2 separate regions of the Homo sapiens genome follow, and region 2 is linked to region 1. The links are contacts of gene promoters, found by promoter capture Hi-C in blood cells and fetal thymus (Javierre and others, 2016). All regions are on one chromosome and are shown on one strand. The core of a region is centred on a gene start or on the middle of the fragment in contact, and the rest is flanking DNA. Distances in the headings are between cores, read along the strand shown. Region 1 holds the start of SLC16A14 (solute carrier family 16 member 14). Region 2 has its middle 140 kb from the start of SP100.

The links. Contacts are between HindIII fragments. The CHiCAGO score rates a contact against its expected background, and 5 or more counts as called.
Region 2: a fragment that was not itself captured here is called in contact with the fragment with the promoter of SLC16A14 in region 1 in 2 of 17 cell types (endothelial precursors and erythroblasts); the score reaches 5.8 in endothelial precursors.

What each region holds. Positions count from the first base shown.
Region 1 is chr2:230,066,046-230,073,869 of GRCh38, reverse strand. SLC16A14 (solute carrier family 16 member 14) reads left to right here and starts at 4,946. Exons shown (of 5, transcript NM_152527.5): 1 at 4,946-5,315. LOC107985995 (a long non-coding RNA gene) reads right to left here and starts at 7,131. Exons shown (of 6, transcript XR_001739918.2): 1 at 7,093-7,131. RefSeq lists enhancers at 4,883-4,942, 4,953-5,072, 5,468-6,238 and silencers at 5,303-5,572, 5,843-6,092. The HindIII fragment of the contact is 4,045 bases long and covers 2,405-6,449 here.
Region 2 is chr2:230,554,084-230,561,907 of GRCh38, reverse strand. No RefSeq gene overlaps it. Among named protein-coding and RNA genes, the nearest start is that of SP100, 140 kb to the right of the region's middle. The HindIII fragment of the contact is 1,947 bases long and covers 1,985-3,931 here.

The DNA of each region.
Region 1 (7,824 bases), core at 3,697-6,196:
AGCCAAAACCTTGGAGTCATCCTTGACTCCTCTTTCTCTCACACATTCAATCTGAAAGCAAATCCTACAACTCTGCCTCCAAAGTATATTCAGATCCAATTTTGTTTTACAACCTTCATTGCCACTTCTATGGTCCCAGTAGCCATTGTCTCTCCCTTGGATTATTGTAGTCAGCCTCCCAAGTAGCGGGATTACAGGCATGCACGGCCACGCCCAGCTAACTTTTGTATTTTTAGTAGAGACAGGGTTTCATCATGTGGGCCAGGCTGGTCTCAAACTCCTGGCTTCAAGTGATCCACCTACCTCAGCCTCCCAAAGTACTGGGATTACAAGCGTGAGGCACCATGCCCAGCCCCCCCTGCTCAACTCTCCAGTGGCTTCCTGTCTCTGAATAAAAGCCAGTTTTTTTCCTGTGATTTTCAAGGCTTTAGGGTGACCTACAGACACTTCCCTCTGCCTTGTGGACTTTGTACCTGCTACTCTTCCTGCTAGGATGAGCTTCCTCCTGTCATTCTCATGGCTCATTCCAGCACTTCTTATTGATGCTTTCTCTCTCCCTTCTAAAGTTTCCCATCACAATAACCCTTCAATTTCCCTGTCCTTGCCTAATTTTTTTCTTAGTGCTTATTACTAATTGTATATATATGTATGTATATATATACATATATATAGAGAGAGAAATAAATACACATACACATATATGCATTACATATATATAACTTGTTTTTCTTGCTCACTGGAACATATACTTAGTGCAGAAAAGCATTTGTGTTGGTTTTGTTCATTGCTGTATCCCCAGCACTTCATAAAATCACATCATACACGTTCAGCAAATATTTGTTGAATGAAAAAATAAATGAATAGCTGAAAAGTAACTACTAGCACATATGGTTCATGGATAAAGCATAAAAATGAGGCCTTGCTGAAATCTGAAATTTATGAGGCACCCAGAAGCCATGACCAATGTCATCTCAGTGTGGTGGTTCTTATGAGACTCCAGGCTGCTGAAGGCTGCTATCAGCCCTGCAACCTCCTTCTGTCCCCATAAGCCATGCTGAAGTCCAAAATCCCTGGAGGCTGGTTTGGCAGCAGGCCAAGACTGAAGATACCTGCCAAGACCAGATGTAACCAAGGTCCCCACTTGGTAAAAGCATCTGCACTTACGGAAAGATAAATCCAGTCACAGGGAGAATCCTGGGGGGGCACAGACTGACCCACCAAGCCAAGAGGTGGCACGGATTTGGGCACAGCACTGGATTTCTGGCCCTGTGTAAGAGAAAGCATTTCCTTCCTCCTTCATAAAACTTTGCCTGGCTGTGCAGCGTGTGGCTTGCCCTGTGATTTCTGAGCACACTTGCATTTCAGGCACTTGTGTTCTGGATTCTAGTCTTTGATCTCCCACATTAAACTCAGAGGAGTGGGGAACAGGGCCATACTGAGAGACAGAGGATATTCTTGGTGACCATGTGGGTTGTGGGTCATCTTTACATCTGGGCTGGCTACAACAATGAGGCAGTCACGGTGACACTTTAAGGCATTTCTCTAACCCCTTCAATGTTCTGTGCTAGCAACTTTCTCAAAAGCTAATTCTATCCCACTCTGTGCCTATTCTACACCATTAAACCACCAAAATTAAGGCAAAGATTGTCCAAATTCTCAGTTTCACCCCAACTCCAAGGTGGGATTATGAAATCAATTGAGTACATGATTAGAACTAAGAGAGGAGGCTTTTACAGGCAGCATGTGAATTAGTTTACATTCTTAAGATGTAAGGTTGTTAGCTAATGCAATTCAATTAAAGGTAAGATTGCTATTGAGAGAAAATATATAATTTGCCTAAAAATCAAGGGAGAATGTCAGGTTTCTCTACTTCAGATACATGAAAAGAGTTTAGCGCTTATATTTTACATTCTAATTGAAGATGGATTTTTTTTTTTTTTGAGACAGAGTGTCGCTGTGTCACCCAGGCTGGAGTGCAATGGCGCTATCTTGTCTCACTTCAACCTCCGTCTCCTGGGTTCAAGCAATTCTCCTGCCTCAACCTCCTGAGTAGCTGGGATTACAGGCACCCACCACTACGCCCTGCTAATTTTTGTATTTTTAGTAGAAATGGGTTTTCACCGTGTTGGCCAGGCTGGTCTCAAGCTCCCGACCTCAGGCGATCCGCCCACCTCGGACTCCCAAAGTGCTGGGATTACAGGCATGAGCCACTGCGCCTGGCCTGATAGTGGATTTCTATTTATTTAACCCAGACATACCAACTTATGGGTCACAGTCCTCTTTGCTTTGGGCCTGTCCTCAATCCACCTGTGTCACTGAGAGACCAACAGACAGGTAAGAGCAGTGAAACTTATGAAGACAAAATAATTGATCAGAAAAGCCTTCATGGTCCAGAGTAGAAGCTTCTCAGAGAGCCAATTAAAGACTGCCTGGGTGTGTGGAGGTGGGACAAGGATTACAAAGCAGCACAAGGAAAATTTTGGAGTCATTTGATTGAGGTGGTAGTTCCATAGACGTGCTGTAACTCATCGAATTGTACACTAAATATGCATAGTTCATACGAGATCCATCCTACCTCCATATGCTGAAACTCATCAAATTGGACACTAAATATGCACAGTTCATATGAGATCCATCATACCTCCATAAGTGGGCAAGTTTTCAGAGAAAAAAAAAACAGACTTAAAAATCTTACAGACTTCTTTTCCAACAAAATGGATCATCGGCAATTGAAGTGCTTGTCAGGAACCCTAATCTTGCTGTCAAAAGCCTGCTTGAAATGAGTGGATATGAGAGGCACCGCCCAAGGGAACACTAACCATCCAGTTGCCCGTGTTCTTATCAGCAAAAGTAAGATATGTAAACCACTGAAGCCTAGCACCTCATCAAAATGCCCTCACTTGGCCACAATTTCTCACAATTTTCTCAAAATTTTTTTTTCTTTTTTTTTTTTGAGACAGAGTCTCACTCTGTTGCCTAGGCTGGAATGCAGAGGCACGATCTCAGCTCAAGGTTCAAGCGATTCTCGCCTCCCAGATTCAAGCAATATCGTGCCTCAGCCTCCCAAGCAGCTGGAATTACAGGCAGGCGCCACCACACCCAGCTAATTTTTGTGTTTTTAGTAGAGACGGGGTTTCACCATGTTGGCCAAGCTGGTCTTGAACTCCTAGCCTCAAGTGATCCACCCGCCTTGGCCTTCCAAAGTGCTGGGATTACAGGCGTGAGCCACTGTGCCCAGCCTCAATAATTTTTAAATCAAGAGTTGATATAAGATTAGCTGGGCATGGTGGCACGCTCCTATAACCCCAGCTACTTGGGATGCTGAGGCAGGAGAATTGCTTGAACCTGGGAAGCAGATGTTGTAGTGAGCCAAGATTGCCACTGCACTCTAGCCTGGGTGACAGAGTGAGATTCCATCTCAAAAAAAAAAAAAAAAAAAAAGAGAGACAGAATTGATATAAGAAATAGCAATATAGGCCGGGTGCAGCGGCTCATGCCTGTAATCCCAGCACTTTGGGAGGGTGAGGCAGCCAGATCACTTGAGTCCAAAAGGTCAAGACCAGTCTGGGCAATATAATGAGACTCCGTCTCTATAAAAAGTCAAAAAAATTAGCCAGGCATGGTGGCGTGTGCCTGTAGTCCCAGCTACTCAGGAGGCTGAGGTGGGAGGATCACCTGAGCCCAGGAGGTTGAGGCTGCAATGAGCTGTGATCATGCTACTGCACTCCAGCTTGGGTGACCGAGGAAGGCAATGTGAAATACATGTGAATTTTTTTTCAAAGAAACGAAAAAGAAGGAAGAAAAGAAAAAGGAAAAGAAGAAAGAAGGAAATCTGTGGTAGGCAGAATAATGGTCTCCCAAAGATGTCCACATCCTAATCCCTGGAACATGTGAATTTGTTACCTTACATGGCAAGAGGGGAATTAAGGTTGCAGATGGAATTAAGGTTGCTAATCAGCTGACCTTAAAATAGAGAGATTATCTGGATTATCTCATTGGACTCAATGTAATCCCCAGGGTCCTTAAAAGTGGACAGGGGTGGGGGCAGAAAAGGGGAGACAAGGCAATGTGAGTATGGAAAGAAGACAAAATGACGCAGCAGTGCTGGCTTTGAAGATGGAGGAAGAGCCACCAGCCAAGGAATGTGGGCGGCCTGCAGAAGCTGGTGGCTCTCCCCTACAGCCACGAGAAGGAACACAGCCTTCAAGGTGGCCAACACCATGATCTCAGCCTAGTATGACCCATTTCAAACTTCCGACCTCCAGAACTGTAAAATAGTGAATTTGTGTGGTTTTCCTCTGCTATTACTGTGGCAGTTTATCACAACAGCAGCAGAGAATTACTGCAAAACCTTCAGGCGGGAAAAAACAGCACAGGCTTCATCGACTCACACATTCACTTCAATAATACAGAAAACTGTCCAAGGCAAAGCACTATGTTGTGTGCCCTGCTGGGAATGAGGTAGGGAGGTATTGAGATGAAAGTTGTGCCTGGTGCCCACGAAGGTAGGTAATGGACGTGCAGAAAGAGCAGGGAGAGGTGGGACCCAGGGTGGAAACAAGAATGAGGGACTGGCCGGTCACGGTGGCTCAGCTTGTGATCCCAGCACTTTGGAGGCCAAGGCCAGAGGATTCCTTGAGTCCAAGTGTTCGAGACCAGCCTGGCAATATAGTGAAACCCGTGTCTCTAAAAGAGAGAGAATAAGGGACTTTGAGTCCTCTTTGGCCAAAAATATTTCAGTGAGGGTCTGTTTCATCCCTTCTCTCCCATCTCAGAGAAATGGAGGCTACTGCTAGTCTCACTTGCATCCTGGATTAGATTTCAGGACCTTTCCGCCAGTGATAAATGTGCAGCGCCTTAGCGGAACCTCAGCCAAAGCTATAAACTTCAACCGGCCACAAGAGTGTGCATGTGAGGTGACTGCATTTTTTTTCCCTGCCAAACCAGAATTAGCCGGTATAGGAATGAACGAGCATGAAGATTTGAAATTGCTCCGATTGGAAGGAAGCCCAGGTTAGGTTTGGGCACCTCCAAACGCACCCGTTTTAAAGCCACCTGGACTGAGGCGTCGAGCTTTCAGCTCCACCAAACGCTCACCTGGCCTGGCAGCGAGCGGCGGAAGAGCCCGGGAGCCCCTCACAGAGCGCACCGAGCCGGGCGGAGAGCTGAGCCGCAGGCACCCGCGTCTCCAGGATGATAGGCGACATTGCAACAAATCTCTACACCCAGCAGCTCAGGGGGCTCCAAGCAGAGCAGCAAGTTCGAGGATCCGGGCGTGGAGCCGAGTGAGGCCGCAGCCCAGCGGGCCTCGGGCGGTGAGTATCCGAGGCCGCGCGCGCCGCGGGCCTGGGGAATGGAGCGACGCCGGGGGCATCGGAGCCTAGGTTTCAGATGGCCGCTGCACCCCCAGGGACCCCCGGGAAGGGGCAGCCCCAGCCCAAGGCAGGCTCGGGAAAGGCTGCCCGGGCGGTGGAGGGCGAGACTGTGCCGGGGCAGGTGGTAGTGCCAAGGCCGCCGCGGGGGCTTGGGAGCTGCGGGCGGGCAGGGTAACCGGCGGTTCAGGGCAGACCGCCAGGCGGAGCTTGGGGACGCGCGCCTTGCTGCTCAAGCTGGCCGGGGCCCCGCGAGCGTCATCCTGGGCACCCCCGTCCGGCTGGAGAAGCGCGTTCTGCCCGGAGCCCAGCCTCGCTGCCCGGCTGCTCTCTAGGCCCGTTTGGGACTCGAACTGGACAGTGATGAGGCGCAGAGCGGGGGACCCGGGGCTGCGCCTAGGGACTTCGCGGGGTGCGGATGCCTCTCTGCACAGGCTGTGGTGCTGCAGCCGGCCCAGCTTCCCCGGTGGGCTGCTGGCTTCCGAACGCGCCGAGGGATGCGGGGTGCCCGAAGTGGGGATGTGGTCTCGGGGTGCCAAGGGAGCGGGAGCACCGAGCGCGGGTGGGGGCGGGCGCTCGAAGGGTGGGGCGCGAGGCCGGACCCCGCGGGCACGATCCCGCACCCAGGGCGCGCAGAGGCTGGGCCCCCTTAGCGCTTCCGATTGAGGCTCCTCAAGAGAGGCTGAAATGGGGTGAGAGACCGGGGACGGCCATTTCGGGGCTAAACGCTGCCAAGGCCATGACGATGTTTTAGGAGCTGAACTCTGCTTTCCAATTAAGCCATTTTCTTTCTGAGGAAAAGTTGATTCGGGCTCATTAACAAGGATGACTGAGGGCCATTATTGGGGCTTAGAGAGATTCTCCTTTGCCTTGTCTGGCTTCTTTGTTTGCATGTGCGTGCGTGTGCGGCTGTGTGTGTGTGTGTGAGAGAGAGAGAGAGAGAGAGAGAGAGAGAGAGAGAGAAGAGAGGGGAGAGAGGCAGTGTTGGGGGTGGGAGGAGGTAAAACAGGCTTGGGATCCTGCAGGCCTGGGTTCCGATTTGGTTTCCACAGCCTGCTAGTTTAACCTTTCTAAGCTTCATTGCTCCCATTTGATGGCTCAGATTCTTCCTCTGTAAAATGCGGACATTCATGCCAATTGGACTGGAGGAGAAGCCACCAAGCACAGTCCCTGACCCAGAGCGAAGCATGTATGTGTTGAGTCCTCCTAATTCGGTGTGAATTTTTCGGTTCTGTTTTTCTCCTATGCTGTCTGCACCAGCTCAGCTCAGCTCCGCTCCCCAGCCTTCTCCGCGGCAGCCTCTTCAGCCTGCTGGCCGCAAGTGCGCCCTCTAAAGGCCCCAAATGCCCTGTACACACCAGGTGAAGAGCGCGGAAGCGCCTGCAGAGCAGAATTAAAGGTGAAGCCCGCACTCACCTGCGTGGGATGCAGAGCCGCTACCACCACGCTCTGCGTAGCTTTGGGGAAGACTGTAATTTCAATTTTAGCTTCGTGCTTCCCGCTTTCCTTATGTGTAATGAGCTCACCACATGCAATGTAATAACAATAGCCAAATTAAAAATGAATGACTTGGCCCAGCGCGGTGGCTCATGCCTGTAATCCCAGCATTTTGGGAGGCCGAGGCGGGTGGATCATCTGAGGTCAGAGTTTCGAGACCAGCCTGGCTAACATGGCGAAACCCCTTCTCTACTAAAGATACTAAAGATGCAGTGGCACACACCTGTAGTCCCAGCTACTCGGGAGGCTGAGGCAGGAGAATCGCTTGAACTCGGGAGGCGGAAGTTGCAGTGAGCCGAGATCTCACCAGTGCACTCCAGCCTGGGCGACAAAGCCATACTCTGTCAAAAAAAAAAAAAAAATGACTTGCTTGTAAAACTTTCTACGCTGCTGTAGAAAATTTAATTTTGTTCTAATATCTGAAACACCCTAGAAGGATCTGTTATTTTCATTTCTGCCTATTATCACGTAAATATGTAGCTGACCCAGTTTCATAGCCTATATATGTTACCCCCCATTTACAATTTCTTTTTCATCGTCTATGAACTCATTTGGGGAGAATGGAAGGCTGACTATTGCTCCCGTAATCTTCCCATTTTCTTATTTCACCCTCTTCATAACGAAGCCCTAATATTTTTTGTCAAGCTTCCAATAGCAAGCTTGCTTAGAGTGGGTTACCTTTTACTTTTTTTTTTTCTTGAGGTAGTCTCGTTCTATCATCCAGGCTAGAGTGCAGTGGCACCATCTCAGCTCACTGCAACCTCCATCTCCCAGGTTCAAGCAATTCTGCTGCCTCAGCCTCCTGCATAGCTGTGAGTATAGGTGCGCACCACCACACTGGCTAATTTTTGTATTTTTAGCAGAGAAGGGATTTCACCATGTTGGCCAGGCTGGTCTCAGACTCCCGACCTCAAGTGATCCATCCCCCTCAGCCTCCCAAAGTGCTGGGATTACA
Region 2 (7,824 bases), core at 1,709-4,208, 490 kb before region 1:
TCAATTCCTAGTTTGCTAAGTTTTTCTTAATCATGAATGGATATTGATTTTTTTTTTTTCCAGACAGAGTCTCACTCTGTCACCCAGGCTGGAGTGCAGTGACACCATCATGGCTCACTGCAACCTCTGCCTCCCAGGCTCAGGTGATCCTCCCGCCTCAGCCTCCTGAGTTGCAGGAACCACAGGTGTGCACCACCAAACTCAGCTAATTTTTTCTTTGTATTTTTTGTAGAGATGGGGTTTCATCATGTTGCCCAGGCTGGTCTCAAACTCCTAGACTCAAGTGATCCACCTGCCTCTGCCTCCCAAAATGCTGGGAGTATAGGTGTGAGTCACCGTGCCCATCTTGATTTTTATTGAATGTTTTTCTGGACCTATGAACATGATCAAATTGCTTTTTTCCTGTAATCTGTTAATGCATTTTATTACATTTATTTATTTATTTTTGAGACAAGGTCTTGCTCTGTTGCTCAGGCTGGAGTGCAGTGGCATGATCTCGGCTGATTGCAACCTCCACCTCCTGGGCTCAGGTGATCCTCCTACCTCAACCTCCTGAGTAGCTGGGACTACAGGTGCATGCCACCATACCTGGCTAATTTTTGTATTTTTAGTAGAGATGGAGTTTCACCATGTTGGCCAGGCTGGTCTGGAACTTCTGACCTCAAGTGATTGGCCTGCCTTAGCCTCCCAAAGTGCTGGGATTACAGACGTAAGCCACTGCACCTGGCCCACTGATTGATTTTTGAATGTTCAACCAATCTTGCATTTCTGAAATAAACCTAGCTTGGTCATAAGAATTATACTTTTTAATATAACTGGCTTTATTTTTTATGTTGGGGAGTTTTACAACTGTATTCATGAAAGAGATTCTTGTTTGAAATCATTAGGTTCTTGTTTTGCCCCCTCAGAGTTTGGAATTATGGTTATACTGGTCTCACAAAATAATCAGTAGTTATTTCTTCTGTTTCTATTCTATGGAAGTGGTTGATAAAATTTGGTGTATTATCTTCCTTAAATGCTTGGTAAATACATCACTTAAGCCATCTGGCCTGAAAATTTTATTGAAGAGAGGTTTTAAATTATACATTCAATTTTTTAATAGTTACAGAACAATTACAGAAAAAGTAGAAAAAATTTATATTTTTTGCATTTGCCTATATTGTAAATTGTGTTTTTAATTTAAACTTTCCAATTGTTTGGCATAAAGCTGATCATAGTATCCTGAGATATTTTAATGTCTTTAGAATATGTATTGACATATTCTTTTTCCCCCTAATATTTGTTCTTGTGACCCTTGTCTTAAAAAAAGTCTAGTCTTATTAGGAGCTTGTTAATTTTATAGCTGTTTCAAAGAGATAACTTTAGACTTTAACTGCTGATCCCCTTTCTTGAATGCTTGTTTTCTATATCAGTTTCTTTCTTAACTTTTTTCATATCTCTACCTTTGGATGCTTAGATCATTGATTTTTAGCTTTTCTTTTTTTTTTTTCTCAGACCTTGCAGGGATGGATCTTCTTTTCTAAGAAATGCATTTAAGGCTATAATTTTTTCCTTCTTAAGTTTTGCTTTTGGTGAATCTCATAAGTTTTGATATGTCATATTTTTATTATCATTCAGGAATTGTTTTCTGAATTCAATTATAATTTTTTCTTTGATCTATGAGGTGTTTATTGGTTTATTTCTTAATTTCCATTTACATGGGGAATTTTCTTCTTGTTATTGATTTTTAGTTTTGTTTCTTATTGTCAGAGGATGTACTTGGCACAATTTTAGTTTTTTGAAATTTGAGATTTACTATATGTCCCAACATTTATCATTTTTATGTGTTCCATGTGTACTTAAAAAGAATGCACATTTGAAGTTGTTGGGTATGTTGTTTTATCTATGTCAATTAAGTCAAGTTTGTTAATCACATGGTTCAGATTTTCTACATCCTTACTGATTTTTTGCTTGTGCCATCAGCGACTGAGGTGAGTTACAAGCTTCTACTTTGGTAGTGGATTTGTCTATTTCTCCTTTTAATCTTGTCAATCTTTGCTTTATATATTTTGTGGCTTTTCTGTTAGGTACCAATAAATGTAGAATTATCTTTTGTGTGTGTTGAATTTCTTATCATTGTGTAACGTCCCTCTTTATCCCTAATGGTGTTTTTTGCTTAAAAGTCTACACCAGTGTAGAAAAAATTTTTTTTTCTTTACTCTCTTAGGTTTAATGCCTGGGACCTATAAATTAAACTGACAAAAGACAGATTAACAGGAGAAAAAGCACAGAAATTTTATTTAATATTAGTATTTTTACATGGCAAAGGAAACATCATAGCAAGAAATAAAAACCCCAAATAAATGAATTGACTGGAGGCTTATATACTATTTTAACACAGAGCAATAACTTGTGGAGATGTAACAATACAAAGGAAAAAAGGATTTGGGCTAAGAGTGGTAAATTATGGGAAAGTGACTAAGAAATATATGGAGAAAACTAATGGGAGATAAGGGTTATTTTAGTGAGGTTTGTTTGTACAGATTCATCATGGCTTCAACTCCTTGACTCTGGTGATAAGAATGTTCTATTCCTGGTACAGGGATGGCACTTTTCTTAGGCATAAAGGTGTAAGAAAGAGACCCCTTTCTGCATCTGCTGTTTCTCAATTGCCTTCAGCTCAAAATAATCAACATGGCAAAGTGGCATATTATGGGGTGATATGTTCTGATACCATTCACCGGCTTTATATTTTTTTGAGACGACTTAGTGTTTGCATATCTTATTCCATCTTTTTATTTTTAACTTATATATCTTCGTATATTCAATCATGTCTCTTGCAAGCAGCCTATAGGTTTTCTTTAATCCAGTATGACAATGTTTGCCTTTTTTTTGTCTGTTTTTGAGACGGAGTCTTGCTCTGTCACCCAGGCTGGAGTGCAGTGGCATGATCTCGGCTCACTGCAACCTCCACCTCCTGGGTTCAAGCAATTCTCATGCCTTGACCTCCCGAGTAGTTGGGACTACAGGCACACGCCACCATGCCTACCTAATTTTTTTGTATTTTTAGTAGAGATGGGGGTCTCACCATATTGGCCGGGCTGGTCTCGAACTCCTGACCTCATGATCCACCTGCCTCAGCCTCCCAAAGTGCTGGGATTACAGGCATGAGCCACTGTGCCTGGGCTATGTTTGGCTTTTAATTGGAGAAATTGTTTCATTTACTTTCCATGTAACTACTGATATATTTAGGTTTAAATCTACCATCTTCCTGCTTGTTTTCTATTTGTCTTACCTGTTTTATGTTCCTTTTCTTCTTCTTACTTCTTTATTGGATTACATTAAAATTACATTATTATAGTCATTTTTGGTTTATCAATGCCTAGTAAACATTAATACTCTTACCATTTTCTAGACAACATAAGGACTTTACACATTCCTATTTTAGATTTCTCCTGCCATTTTATAAATCTTATAGATATTAGAAGTAAATATACTTTGGGAAAAGCCACTTGGAAAACAGAAAAGCCAATAAAACTCTTAATATTCATATAAACATATTTTTCTTTACAAAAGAATTATTCTAATTGTTTGCTGCATATGTTACAAATAGAAAATAATTCCTTTTGATTTTGGAAGATTCATGTAATAGTAGTAGTTAGCTTGCTTTGTAGTAGTTAAATTAGGCTATCTGCTCTAACAAATAGACCCCAATATATATAACATCCTCAAACAAAATTTAAGTTTATTTCTTTTAAAACAGTCTAATGAGTTACAAGTTGGTGAGATGGGAGGGTTGTTGGGTTGTTGGGGGCTCTCTTCCATGTAATTATGCATGGTCTCAGACTGATGGAGGTTTTGACACTCATGGCTTCCAAGGGTGTCCTTACTTGGAGACTGCCATCCAGTTCATGGCAGAGGAAAGATTGTGGGGCAGTACGTGTAAGAAGCTTTTATGGGTCAGCCTTGGAACTAGGCACATGTCTTCCTCAGATGTTCCTCTATCTAGAACTCGGTCATAGGCCACTCATACCTGCAGGAATTCCTGGAAAATATAGTTTAACTGTGTGCCCTGGAAGAAGAGGAAAATACAGTTTGGGTAAGCAGCTAGCTGTCTCTCCTATACACTTTCTATCTTGTCCTCAAGTATCACCCTTCTTCCGATCTTCCCACATATAGAACCCCTTACCCTCTTTCTTCCTGCCCCTCCCTTACAGGAGATAACACAAACTCCCATATAATTACTGCACACAGGCCAATATCCACTTACTTTGTGTGAAGTACAGTTCTCCCTATCAGGTCTGGATGATGTTCTTGATGTTTTGGTGACCTTTTAATAAGTTTGTCTTCCCTTACTGTACTTCCAATATACAATGTTTGATGAGTGACAGAGTAATCCCAATACAACTACTATCTAGGAAGTGGAAAAATGGGAGACAAACAGTGGCCAATGGTCTATTATCTAAATCTACCAGGCTGTGATTAAAGGGGTCCCTCTCCTCTAGCAGTGGAGGAATTTGGAAATTTCTTGACTTTGATTCTGCTCTTTTGAAATAATTCTCCTGACCGTGCCCTCTATTTTTTTTTTTTTTTCATTTTCTCTTTCAATTTCCTTCTTGGCCACCTCTGAAGTATCCACTGGGGGACACACCCTTCTATAGCACTGTATGTATTCACAGCTTTTTTCTGCATGTTTAAGTTTGGATGACTAAGGGTTTTATTAAGGCTTGAACAGTACTTGAAAAGTACTTTATGTTCAGGTTTATGGTTCTTTCAGTGATTTTATTAAAGCTTGGTTGGCTTTTCATTGATTTATTGTCCATGAATTCCACATATTTATAACAACATCTAGAGTTCTGTTCTAAACTTAATCCATAAGCCTGATTTATTTCTTAACTTTTCCCTCCCAAACCAAATTTCTCTCTTAGTTGAATGGTACTCCCTTGAGGCTATCTGATGCCAGGTGGTTAGGTGTCAAGGCTTTGCTTACTTTGAAATTTACCTCAGTGCTCAATTCCTCTGTTTAATCGAGAAACCCTAACTAGCTTTTTGTTGCTCAAAGCCTCTTTCAGTCTCATCTCTTACTCTTCGGAGTTCTTTTGGCTTCTCCAACCCTACGAGAACCCACTTTTCTGTACTCTCTTGAGTCCCATTCACTTTTGTTCTCAAATGAATCAATTATTGCTGGAGCTGATCTCTTAACTGTAATAAGCCTTCAAACCCAGTGAGTGGTAACCAACAGACTCTATTGTTAGTGTTTTCCAATTCCTTTTCCTAGAGCTACAGGACTTAGAGGCATTAAAAAAATGTTTACCTTTTGTGATATATCTTGCAAGAAATCTGTCATGTTTTGCCATTGCCTAATAAAGGAAACCATTTTCCATGCTCTGATATAAAATTCCTGATCACTAAGCCATTTTTATTATGGCAACACCTCACTTCCAGTACTAGTTTCTTTCTATTTATTTATTTATTTATTTATTTAGAGACAGGGTTTTGCTCTGTCACCCAGGTTGGAGTACAGTGGCGCCATCCTAGCTCACTGCAGCCTCGAACTCCTGGACTCAAGCAATCCTCCTGGCTCAGCTGGAATTACAAGCATGGGCCACAGCATTCTCATCACCAGTGCCAGTTTTCATTATGACTTCTATATTCAATGTTATAGGATAATAGCTGTTAAATGGACCAAAAACTATGTAACAGCTCAAGCAAAATTGAGGCTTGTTTTACATTCTTGTAAACAAGGGGGTTCCATGTTGATAGAGGATGGGATGGATGGGCAAAGCTCTATTTCACCTGTTTGAGGACTGTGGTTGGTGGAGGCTGTAGTGCCTTTAACACATAGTTTCCAAGGCTTCCATATATGAGGAAAAGAGCAGAGGAAGAGGAAATGTGTAGAATGATTTGAAAGGGTAGGATATCAGAAGGGAGCAAAGTGTAAGAAGAGTTTTACAAGACAATGCAAGTTGCCTATTGTGGGTAAGTTTTTCCCAACCTTTCTGATCATCCCTCAGATGAATCAAAAAGCAGACTAATTTAGCTTGTGGGTGGGTATATTCTAGCCTGGAACTTTTCGAGGTCTTTTCTAGGTTTCTTTTTTTCTTCTTTTTTGTAATATGGCATTTTCTTCTGAGTTGGTTATCACCAAAACCCCTAAAGAATTCTATTACTTTCTCCTATGATCAGCAGTTGTTATCCTTTAGGAAATAATAATAAAGAATAGGGTCAAGAAACAAAATTCCTCACCAAGAATTTGGCCAGGTAAAGAAGAAAAAGATTGTAATTAGGAGTCTGAACTTTCTCAGTGCATCCACATGAAAGGGATCCAAGCAACTCACTGGATCCATTCTCTGCATAATTATAAAGTCCATGTTTAACAAATGGAAGCTTTGAGTCTGTGTATTCATATGTTGATATTTTATTTTAAATATGCTAGCAAAATTATGAGGCTTTTTCATTTTCATTTTAAGTTCTGGGTACATGTGCAGGATGTGCAGGTTTGTTACATAGGTAAATGTATGCCATGGTGGTTTGCTGCACCTATCAACCCATATCCTAGGTATTAAGCCCCGCATGCATTGGGTATTTTTCCTAATGCTCTCCTTCCCCTCACCCCACCCCCAACAGGTCCCAGTGTGTGTTGTTCCCCTCCCTGTATCCATGTGATCTCATTGCTCAGCTCCCACTTACAAGTGAGAACATGCGGTGTTCGGTTTTCTGTTCCTCCATTAGTTTGCTTCCAGCTCCATGCCTGTTCCTGTGAAGGACATGATCTCATTCTTTTTTATGGCTGCATAGTATTCCATGGTGTATACATACCACATTTTCTTTGTCCAGTCTTTCATTGATGGGCATTTGAGTTGATTCCATGTCTTTGCTACTGTGAATAGTGCTGTAATGAAAATACATGTGCATGTATCTTTGTAATAGAATGATTTATATTCCTTTGGGTATATACCCAGTAACTGGATTGCTGGGTCAAATGGTATTTCTGGTTCTAGATCTTTGAGGAATCACCACACCATCTTCCACAGTGGTTGAACTAATTTACATTTCCACCAACCATGTAAAAGCGTTCCTATTTCTCTGCAACCTTGCCAGCATCTGCTGTTCGTTGACTTTTTAATAATTGCCATTCTGACTGGCATGAGATGGTATCTCACTGTGGTTTTGATTTACATTTCTCTTATAATCAGTGATGTTGAGCTTTTTTGTTTGTTTGTTTGTTTGTTTGACAGAGTCTTGCTCTGTCGCCCAGGCTGGAGTGCAGTAGTGTGATCTCGGCTTACTGCAAGTTCCGCCTCCTGGGTTCATGCCATTCTCCTGCCTCAGCCTCCTGAGTAGCTGGGACTACAGGTGCCTGCCACCATGCCTGGCTAATTTTTTTCTGTTTTTTTTTTTTTTTTTTTTTTAAGTACAGATGGGGTTTCACCATGTTAGCCAGAATGGTCTCCATATCCTGACCTCGTGATTCGCCCACCTTGGCCTCCCAAAGTGCTGGGATTACAGGCGTTAGCTACTGCACCTGGTGATGCTGAGCTTTTTTAATATGTTTTTTGGCCACCTGAATGTCTTTTGAGAAGTGTCCGTTCATATCCTTTGGCCACTTTTTAATGGAGTTGATTTTTTTTTGTAAATTTGTTTACATTCCTTGTAGATTCTGGACATTAGAGCTTTGTCAGATGGATAGATTGCAAAAATTTTCTCCCACTCTTTAGGTTGCCTGTTGGCTCCGGTGATAGTTTCTTTTGTGTGCAGAAGCTCTTTAGTTTAATAGTGAAAATGTCAGTTTTTGCTTTTGTTGCAATTGCTTATGGTGATTTTGTCATGAAATCTTTGCCTGTG